Linked DNA regions of Homo sapiens: regions 1 and 3 are each linked to region 2. The links are contacts of gene promoters, found by promoter capture Hi-C in blood cells and fetal thymus (Javierre and others, 2016). All regions are on one chromosome and are shown on one strand. The core of a region is centred on a gene start or on the middle of the fragment in contact, and the rest is flanking DNA. Distances in the headings are between cores, read along the strand shown. Region 1 overlaps KCNQ5 (potassium voltage-gated channel subfamily Q member 5). Region 2 holds the start of KCNQ5 (potassium voltage-gated channel subfamily Q member 5). Region 3 overlaps KCNQ5 (potassium voltage-gated channel subfamily Q member 5).

The links. Contacts are between HindIII fragments. The CHiCAGO score rates a contact against its expected background, and 5 or more counts as called.
Region 1: a fragment that was not itself captured here is called in contact with the fragment with the promoter of KCNQ5 in region 2 in 1 of 17 cell types (megakaryocytes); the score reaches 5.4 in megakaryocytes.
Region 3: a contact is called between a fragment that was not itself captured here and the fragment with the promoter of KCNQ5 in region 2, in 1 of 17 cell types (erythroblasts). The highest score is 5.2, in erythroblasts.

The regions. Positions count from the first base shown.
Region 1 is chr6:72,888,554-72,891,798 of GRCh38, forward strand. The region is part of intron 1 of KCNQ5 (potassium voltage-gated channel subfamily Q member 5); the gene reads left to right. Among named protein-coding and RNA genes, the nearest start is that of MIR4282, 78 kb to the right of the region's middle. The HindIII fragment of the contact is 1,395 bases long and covers 802-2,196 here.
Region 2 is chr6:72,620,259-72,623,417 of GRCh38, forward strand. KCNQ5 (potassium voltage-gated channel subfamily Q member 5) reads left to right here and starts at 1,806. Exons shown (of 14, transcript NM_019842.4): 1 at 1,806-2,329. The coding sequence starts at 1,932. It overlaps KCNQ5-DT (KCNQ5 divergent transcript), which reads right to left and starts at 2,421. Exons shown (of 3, transcript NR_186827.1): 1 at 2,274-2,421. RefSeq lists enhancers at 191-380, 2,491-3,159 and silencers at 1,801-2,060, 3,091-3,140. The HindIII fragment of the contact is 6,363 bases long and covers 762-3,159 here.
Region 3 is chr6:72,910,613-72,913,931 of GRCh38, forward strand. All of the region lies in intron 1 of KCNQ5 (potassium voltage-gated channel subfamily Q member 5), which reads left to right. Among named protein-coding and RNA genes, the nearest start is that of MIR4282, 55 kb to the right of the region's middle. The HindIII fragment of the contact is 152 bases long and covers 1,398-1,549 here.

The DNA.
Region 1 (3,245 bases), core at 249-2,748, 270 kb after region 2:
GGCTTAGAAGGGATCCAGACTGCATTTGCGATGAACCATACATGTTTCTGGTCTCAGAATTGGGGGACCATAAAGTAGTGACAACGACTGTAAAACCAAATGTCAGTCCACATGACCTGGGCCTTACTGCTCTTTGTAATGCCCAGATAATAAATTTCCAGTTCCACTAAGTGTTAGTGAATACCCATCACTTGGCCAAATATAGGGGTGTCTTACTTTTCTGCCATGTTGCATTCCTGAGTAGTCCTTCATTCACATTTTTTAATTCATTTAATATTTATTGTGCAAACTACTACTTCCAAGCATACTTTTATAGGCACTGGGGATACAGCAGTGCGCAGAAGAAAAAATTCCCTATCTTCATGGAGCCCACAGTCTGTATGTACATCTATGTGTCTGTGTCTCTGTGTGTTTGTATATGTATAGGAAGATACAGACAATAAACATTCCACATAAGTAAGTTATATAGGACATTAAAGATTAGTAAATACTATGGAAAAATAAAAGAGAGTAAGGGAGATGGACAGTGCCTGAGCAAAGAAAAGATTACAATTTTTAGGTGTCATGAGGGAACCTTGCTAAGGAAATATCTGAACTAGGACTTGAATGCAGTAAGGAAAAAACCATGCAAATATCGAATGAACAGTATTCCAGGCAGCAGCAACAATAAAGTTAAAGACCCTGGAGTGTGATTGTGCTTGGTGTGTTGAAGAACATCAAGGAAGTCACTGTGGCTGGAACAGAATGAGGCAGAGGGGAAGCAGATTAGATAGGACCTTGGAGCCTCGGAAGCCACTGGGAAGCTTTGATCAGAGAGCTACTCAACAGCATATAACTGATGCATTTATAGTGTGTATTAGGAATAGCCTGAAATGTATTCAAGTAAAGACTTACATTCTCCCTTCACCTTCCACCCTCCTTTCTTGCCATCTCTGATTATTGAAGGTATAAAATGAAGCAGTACCACCAAGGCCATGGTAAGAGAAACAAACTCACCTTGACTCAGCATCTACTATGTGCCAAGCGCCATGCTAGAAACTATAGTTTTATCTCAATTCAGCAGCAAAATCAGTCTATCAGGTTTCAGTGGCACAAAGAAGAGAACACAGAAATATTTTAGTCAATTACCAAATGGTAAGCTACAATTTTTTAAATAAGTCCCCCCTGCATAAAGAAAAGATAAATTTTTAAGTTGATGGATTTCTGAATTACTCTGATTTGATCATTAGACATTATATGAATATATCAAAATATTGCATGTACCTAGAAAACATGTACATCCACTATGTATCAATAATAAATTTTTAAAAGCCCCCAAGCCTTCTTGGACATTTGCTAAGGGCAGTGTGGCTGTTTGCAGCCCTATATGCAGAAACCTCCATGAATATGTAGGGTACAAGGCAGAGAGAACTGAATTCAGTCAGAGCTGAATGGTGCTTGGAAGGTGCCCAGCCTCCCAAGAAGATGTCTATTTACCCTCAGCGAGCAGTCACAGTGCCCTCTGCCCAGGAGGGCAGGATTAGCTTTGAAGCAGGGTTGTTTGTTTCTCTTTTTAGAAAAGCTCTGTTGAAACATAATTGATATATTTAAAATTGCATATATTTAATATATACATTTTGATGGGTTTGGACATATGTACATATTTGTGATACCATCACCATAATCAGCATACTAAGCATATTCATCACCTGTCAAAATTACCTTGTGTTCTTTTGTGGTTTTGTTTTGCTTTGTGATAAGAGCAAGTAACATGAGCTCTATCCTCTTAACATACTTTAAAGGGTACGATGCCATATTGTTAACTATAGGTACTATATTGTACAGCAGATCTCTAGAACTTACTCATCTGGTATGACTGAAACTGTATATAGGGTTTTTCATTTCTGTGGCAACTCTATACATGAAAGAGCTGTTTGTGGGGGAAGTTATTAGGTTGCATTAAAACAAGTCATTGAGAATAGCAGTGGGGTTGTGGTGTGTGGCAGTGGCTGCTGCTATGGGAGGTTGTGTGCCTAGTGGTCATGAATTGTGCCACCACTGGCACCATTTGAGAATGGATGGAATAGTAGGACACACCAGGATCAAAACCATCTTGCCGAGGTTCTTATTCTTGATCGAAATAGATTTGTATTTCATAAATTATCAGATAAAAACCTTTGTGTCTTAACTAAAAGTAAAGTGGAGGTCCCAGTGACAAGCTTTGCAAAAGCCCCACATCACATAAGCATATCATATCAGAAGACAGTAGAAAGAATTGTGAACATCAAGATTGACACCAAACATCTGGCCCTTGTAAAGAGAACATGTAGCCCTCCCAAGGGAGTTCCAGTAATTGGAATGGAATGAACTCTATCCAAGTATCTGCAAAACTCCTAAATCAGATTAACAAATTATTGTCCACTGTTGTGGAAGAATTTTGGGAAATGGGAAAGGTGCTGGAAGACTAGAGACAGACAAATTTTATTGTTGATTCTACTATGTTAGGCAATTTCAAGAGCCAACAAGCTTCATATTGATCAAAAGCAATATTCCAGAATGGATTTAATAGGTGGGTATATGAGTACTTTGAAAAGCAAGTGTCCTTGGGATCCTGTCTGTGCTCACCAATAACAAATCACATTACTCTTACTTTAATTCCTTGTTTGACAGATTTACTATGTCCATAATGCTAGTATTGCACAGTTAAATTCAGATTTCAGTAAAGTAGTTGACAAAATCTAACATGAAAGTCTTCAGAAAATGTTCATTTATTCAATTCTACACTTGAGTATGTGTAAATGGTTGGATGTGTAAATGGTTGGATGAACATACTCAAAAAGTGTCAATTCAGATATTCTAGAGAATTATCAATATATGAATGAAGATATGTGGATAAAGGATCCTTCATACCCAGATCACCTATGATTTTAATACTCTTACCTGATTACTATCACTATTAACCATGGCTAAAAAGCCTAGAAAAAGGTGACAAATTAAAGTGACTTAAAGAAAACACCATATAACTAAAATTGCCTGCTCCATATGCCCCCCAAAATGGTTACATAATCTACAGTCATGTAATGAATGCCTCAAAAATAATGGAGTTGCATAATTTATGCACCGATGTTAGAATTCAGTGCCACCTAAGGTGCAACTCTACCATCTTGTTTAATCCTTCCTAAAATAAAGAAATATATAAACATATACTGATTTTAGATGCTGAATTTTAAAACAAAAATATAATCGCTATTATCAGGCAAGACTAT
Region 2 (3,159 bases), core at 556-3,055:
TCGAATAGCACCGCACGGAGCAACCTCTCTCGCACCTCCACAGTGCGTGGGTGTGAAGTGTATTAGGGGAAAGCTAGAGAGTGACTCTGGGTGATGGTGCTCGGCTCACAGTCACATGGCGTCGCCGCCAGCTGCACAGAGCTCCCAGCTAGCTTCTGCTGCCCAGAGGCTTGGGGGGAAGGAGGGAGGGAAGCAGGCTCCTGCTGGTGACCAGGAGCAGGCGAGAGGGCTTCACACAAATAATAGTGATAATAAAGAGTAAAAGCAAAGCATTTAAATCGAGCTATTGCAGAAGACAGAAATCAGCTGCCGCGGGCGTGGGTGTGTGTACAGGGTGGGGGAGAATTGGGAAAGTATTTATCTCGGAGGGGCGGAGACAGCTGCAAGAAGACTTTTGTCTTAGCATTGTTTTAGCCTTAGGAAAGGAAAAGGCCCGAAGGAATCCACCTTGCAACTATCTGCTATGTCTTTGTGGTGGAAGCTTAGTTTTGCCTTCAATTTAATTTGATGATTTTCTTTCATATTTGGGGAAGAGCCACTCTGTTGGAAGAAGTCCCCGAGCCTGGCACCCTTCAGTTTTCCCTATGCTGAATGTGAGATTTAAACTGCCTTTTCTTTGTAATACACTGTTTCTGAAGGCCAGAGGCTGCGGCCAGTGGCACCGTGGCCTCTCTCTCCGCCAAGGGCGCATAGGCTTTGGGCCACCCGGGTGCCAGGGGTGGTGGAAGACCCAGTCAGTTGTTCCTTGCAACAGGTCTCTAAGCTTGTATGTTACAACATAAGGTGGGTGGGGTCGGAACCCCGAAAAGCCGGCGTCCTGGACACCCCATCCTCCAGGTGTTCTTTCCCAGACACTGGGTCCTCGCCGCCGCTGCTGAACTTCTCAATCATATGACTTTCTCGGACTTAAATGGAAATTTCTTGACGGAGGGAACTGGGTTTGTTCTCCCAGGCTTCGCGCTGCAGTCAGGCAGAGCCCCGGGGCAGCTCGCTCACCGCGGAGGAGCCACTTTGGAGTTTTACGCCCTTTCCACACCCCACCCATGGACTGGAAAGGATGTTCAGTTACTCGCGAGCTTGTCTGATACTGGGATGGAAAGTCACAGTCCGCAGGCTGGAGTGAGGCGCGGGAAGATGCCTGGTCCTTGCCTCGCGGACTTGGCAGCCGCGTCCTGCGGGTCTGTCCACTGAACTGCTGAGGACTCGCCCGTGTGCGGGGACCCGAGTGCCACTTCCCGGAGCGTTACCTTGCGCTCCAGCCTCCAGGCTAGATAATACCTGGAAGGCAGGGCAGGGCTGTTCCCGCTCTCACCCCTTGCGGAAGGATGGCAGGATCCGGCGCAGCGACGTAGCAGCGGGAGGGCACAGCGACCTGCATCTCCAGTTTCTCCTCAGGACACAAGGCTGACTTCACCTTCCGGACAGCTGCAAAGCCCCTGCCAGAACCAAACCGAACTCGCGCCTCGGAGAGGGGCTTCTGGGGCCGTTTCGCTGCAGGGCGTGGGGAGTGGAGAGAGGGAAGGGGAAGCCTGGGGCTGGGTGTGCGCGCGTGGGAGCGCGCCTCGGAGCGCCCCGCACTCCCCCACTCTATCCCCGGGGGCAGTTTGGGAAGGAGGGAGTGGTAGTCGCGGGAATGAGGGAGCAAGAGAAACCCTCTCAAAGTGACGCCCCAAACAGGTCCGGATTTAGAATTCGAAGCTAAAGGCTGTTAGAAATTGGGACTCCTCGGCCTCCTCTGCAGCCCCTCCTTTCCCGCCCCGAAGCCCGGGCGGTTTGCTGGCTGCCTGCTTCCCCGCCCCCGGCTCAGAGGTCTCTGGCTGGCGGGCGCCCCGTCGGCCGCCGGCTTCCTCCTTGAAACCCGCCGGCGCACATGAGGCCGCTGCCCCCGCCGCAGGCGCTGGCGGCCCCCTCGCGGTGCCCGTGGTGATGCCATGCCCCGCCACCACGCGGGAGGAGAGGAGGGCGGCGCCGCCGGGCTCTGGGTGAAGAGCGGCGCAGCGGCGGCGGCGGCGGGCGGGGGGCGCTTGGGCAGCGGCATGAAGGATGTGGAGTCCGGCCGGGGCAGGGTGCTGCTGAACTCGGCAGCCGCCAGGGGCGACGGCCTGCTACTGCTGGGCACCCGCGCGGCCACGCTCGGTGGCGGCGGCGGTGGCCTGAGGGAGAGCCGCCGGGGCAAGCAGGGGGCCCGGATGAGCCTGCTGGGGAAGCCGCTCTCTTACACGAGTAGCCAGAGCTGCCGGCGCAACGTCAAGTACCGGCGGGTGCAGAACTACCTGTACAACGTGCTGGAGAGACCCCGCGGCTGGGCGTTCATCTACCACGCTTTCGTGTGAGTACCCGCGCCCCCTGCTATGCCCGCTGCAGGGGACCACTGTCCCTGGCCCCCTGGGGCGTGCTCCGCGCTCGCGCCCTTGGGCCCCCGCGCGCGTGCACACGTGGTGGCTTTTATTTCTTCGCACGTGTTCGTGGTCTTCCTTCTGGAGCCTCTCCCCTCCCCCAGCCCCACTTCTCTCATCTCTACAGCTTGAACCTTTTCCCCGAGGACACCCAATGAACTGCCCGGTAGCTTCAGGCTCCCGGGGCGAGAGCCAGGCAGACGCGGGACTTAGGCTGCGCGGATAATTGGGAGCAATTAGGTCCCAAGATACGTAAACTTCAACCGAACGGGGCGCCCGGGAGCTAGGGAATGCAAAGGGAGGACAGGCGCCCGTGTGAGGCTTGAGAGTATACTGGAGAGGTTAGGAGGTGATGGCGGGGTAGGACGGGGAGAAGTGAGGGGGCATCGAGGGCTAGGTCCTCAGTCCTAGGGGCGGAGTAGGGGAAGCTGCTACTTGGAGAGAGCTGCTAGGTTTTAAGCGCGCCCGGAAACACGCCTCGCCACCACCCAGCCACCACCAACGGAAAATCTGTCAGTGCATGTAGCCCTTCCTGCCACGGAGAAGGTGGCCAAGGTCTAGAGGAGGCCAGCAGGCCAGGCGAAGCAACGCTCCCGCGCTGCAGGGGGCGGGGAGGCAGCGGGGAACCTGGGGCGCAGGAACGCGGGCGGAGGTGCGATAGCAGAAGCGCAAATGGGTCGCCTCTGACAGAGATCGGGCAGTGGGTTAAGTCCCCGTTTGTGGCGCGGAGTCAAAGAGTGTGTGTGTGTGTGTGTGTGTGTGT
Region 3 (3,319 bases), core at 224-2,723, 290 kb after region 2:
AAATTATTGACTTCTGTGTACTATTCTTTACCCATACTTTATCACTTCTTACCTGGACCTCCTTCTCTTCTAACTCAAATACCCTTGCACTCTAAATTTTGTTGCTGTGTCTCTGGATAACTACATAAAGAAGAAACCGAAAGAGGATAAAAGTGAACATAGGTATCAATTTATATATAAAGAGGGAAGCATGAATCTGACTTGGTACTCACTCTATGAGCAGCACGGAAACAGGTATAGGGATTTATCAGCTTCATATCAGCTGACCACCACAAGAACCCATAAATGGAAGATACATGTTGTTTTAGACACTTGCAAGGGAGGATAAGTGAAAGAGAGGCCTGAGCAAAGAAGCTCACACACAGGGCCTGTGCCTATGACTCCAGATGAAGCCCAGGTCAGGCTGTGAACAGCTCTGTTAGCTATACTAACCAAGAAGTTTTTAACTGTATCCCAAGGGCAATGGAAAGCCGATGAAGGCTTTACAGCAAGAAAATGACAAGACGAGATTTATGTTTTGGAAGAATCCTCCTGGCTTAAATGTACGGAATGGAGAAAGAGTGGTGCAAAGGACAGAATGTTTATGACACCCAACCCCAAATTTATGTTGAAATCCTAACTCCCAATGTGATGGTATTAAGAGATTGGGCCTTTGGAAGGTAATTAAGCCATTAGGGTGGAGCCCTGATGAATGTTATTAATGTCCTTATGAAAAGAGGCCAGAGAGCTAGCTAGCCTCTCTTTCCGCCATGTGAGGTTACAATAAGAAGTTGGTAGTCTGCAACCCGGAAGGGGGCCTCACCAGAACCCCACCATTCTGACACCCTGATCTTAGATTTTCATCCTCTAGAACTGTGAGAAGTAAATTTCCATCATTTGCAAGCCACCAGTTTATGGTGGTTTGTTAAGTAGCCCAAACTGACTTAAGACAAGTGGGAAGGGGCTGAGTAGTAAGACCAATGCCTAGAATAGTGCTTGGCAAATAGGAGATGACAAATGAATAACTGTTGAGTATGTATGACAGCAGAAAATCCAATTATGATGCTGTTGAGAAATCCAGGCAGGAGAAGGCATCACTGGGGCCAGCATGGTAGCTGTCAGTGAGTGTGCATTAGGATTAAGTGTTTAATGCAAGTGTGCAGAACTAAGAACATCCTATGTTTTTATGGTGTGTCCAAATCCGGAGTAAAGACAAAGTTTTTTATTTTGTTTGCCAAGATAGCATTTTCCTTTTAGCAGTTTTTCTTCTTTAAAGATATTGTACTCTTTCACCACTAAAGTTGCATTACCTCTGAACTGGCAGTTTTGCTGATGGCTTCTGTGGTCTGGAGGCTTGCCCATTTATTTTCTGATTTCCCCTTTGGCAGTGCACATTTCTGCTCTCATTCTTCACTGCAAGCTTCAAATATATAAGCGTTCTAGTTACTAACAACCAAGAGACAAAGAGATTGGGGGATAAAAGTACAAGAGCAAGCAGATTCATACCTGATGAGTTATTGGAGTGTTTCCCTTAATCAATGCCATTGTCATCCCAAATGTTGGCAGATCAAGCTTGGATAGGATCCAGTATACTCACTGTCACTGAAAATAGTTAATTACTTGGAGGGCATTATGTGTGGTGGTAGCACAGGGCTATGTACATATAGGTAAATCAAAAAAAAACTTAATGGGCATATTAATTCATAACTTTTTCGTAGTAAGCATCGATGGATTAGATCTGTTTACTGAATTTATAGATACTTCCACTAGAGAATAAAGCTTTTCACCTTCTTGTTAATCCAGGGTCCTCCTTGCTTAGTGTCAGAGCTGTTTGTGATTTACCAGCACTGACAACTACTGTTTTCCTTTTTGGTTCATTTATCAGAGAGGTTTCTAGCCTTGTGTAATGCAAAATGCTCAGGCTTTGTTACCATACTAATTTGGGTTTAAATTCAAGTCATGGGATATTTTAGCTTGGTGACCATGGGCAAATTGTCAAATTTTTCTGAATCTGGCATTCTCCTAGTATAATAATCACAATCCCAAAGAAGTGCTTGATGAGTTTCATTTGATTATTTATTTTCTTTTAAGTCTAGCACAATGTTAGACACATAAAAGGAATGAATCTTCATGACCGTTGTATCAAATAAAAAAGTTCTCCAATGCTATCTTTGTTGTATTTAAAAACATTAGATAGGCAGAAATATTTTTAAATAGATGCTCAGAGATAATCACAATGGTGTTATTTGAATTCTATATTATTACTTGGAAGACTTTATTAACTTCCTTTAAAAGGACATGGGGACCTTTCAGAGAGTGGAAGGTGGGAGATGGGAGAGGATCAGGAGAAATAATTAATGGGTACTAGTCTTAATACTTGGGTTATGAAATAATCTGTACAACAATCCCCCATGACACAAATTTACCTATGTAACAAACCTGCACATGTACCCCTGAACTTAAAATGAAAGTTTTTTTAATGGTGCATACTTCTGCATTCTCATTTATGATATATACATTAAGCCTAATTTAATTTAGATAAAAATAATAACTCAAAATATTTGGGATAATAGCTTGAAATTTTAGGTGTATCTTTCCAATTTCTATTTTTTCACCACAAGTAGATTTCAGTAAGATTTTAATCAATGGCAGTGTTGATGCTAAACAAGACTAGGGAACTCTCAAGTTAGCCCTTGTGATAAAATTACAGAAATTCAGACCTAAAATACATCTTCAAGGCCACTAGATCATCATGAGAGTTTACGGTAGTAAGTGGCACCATGTCAACGTAACTACTCCCTAGAGCAGTGGTTCCCATTTGTATTCTGAGGACCAATGGGAGACTTTGAGTTGTGGCATGGGGTGTGTGAGTCCTGGGTCCACTCTTAACTGTAGAAAATCAGTATTATGTATCCTACATATGTATGCAGCTGCTTTTCAAAAGTATACAGACACTATTGTGATTAGAAAAATACAAATTCATTCCAAGGCATTACCACATTTCAGTAGTGTTTTGTTATGGGTTTTCTTAACCAACAGTTGTGTAAAGTCTATCTGTTCTCATGTGAAATCTGTAGACATTTTAAACAGTGTAGGGGAAGGAAATATCTTCTCTTCCCATCTTAGAGTCACGGCTGAGGCCCCTGTAAGAAAAGACAGATTAACAAGGAAAGCTTACAGATTCGTTTAATGTAAGTTTTCATGACATGAGAGCCTTCATAAAGAAATGAAACAGGTAAAGTTGTGTATTTTTATGCTTAGGTTTGATAAAGAGTGGACAGTCCTGAGAAATATGATTGGAGGACAAAAGGGAATGACCTAATGGTAACAAACTGGGGGA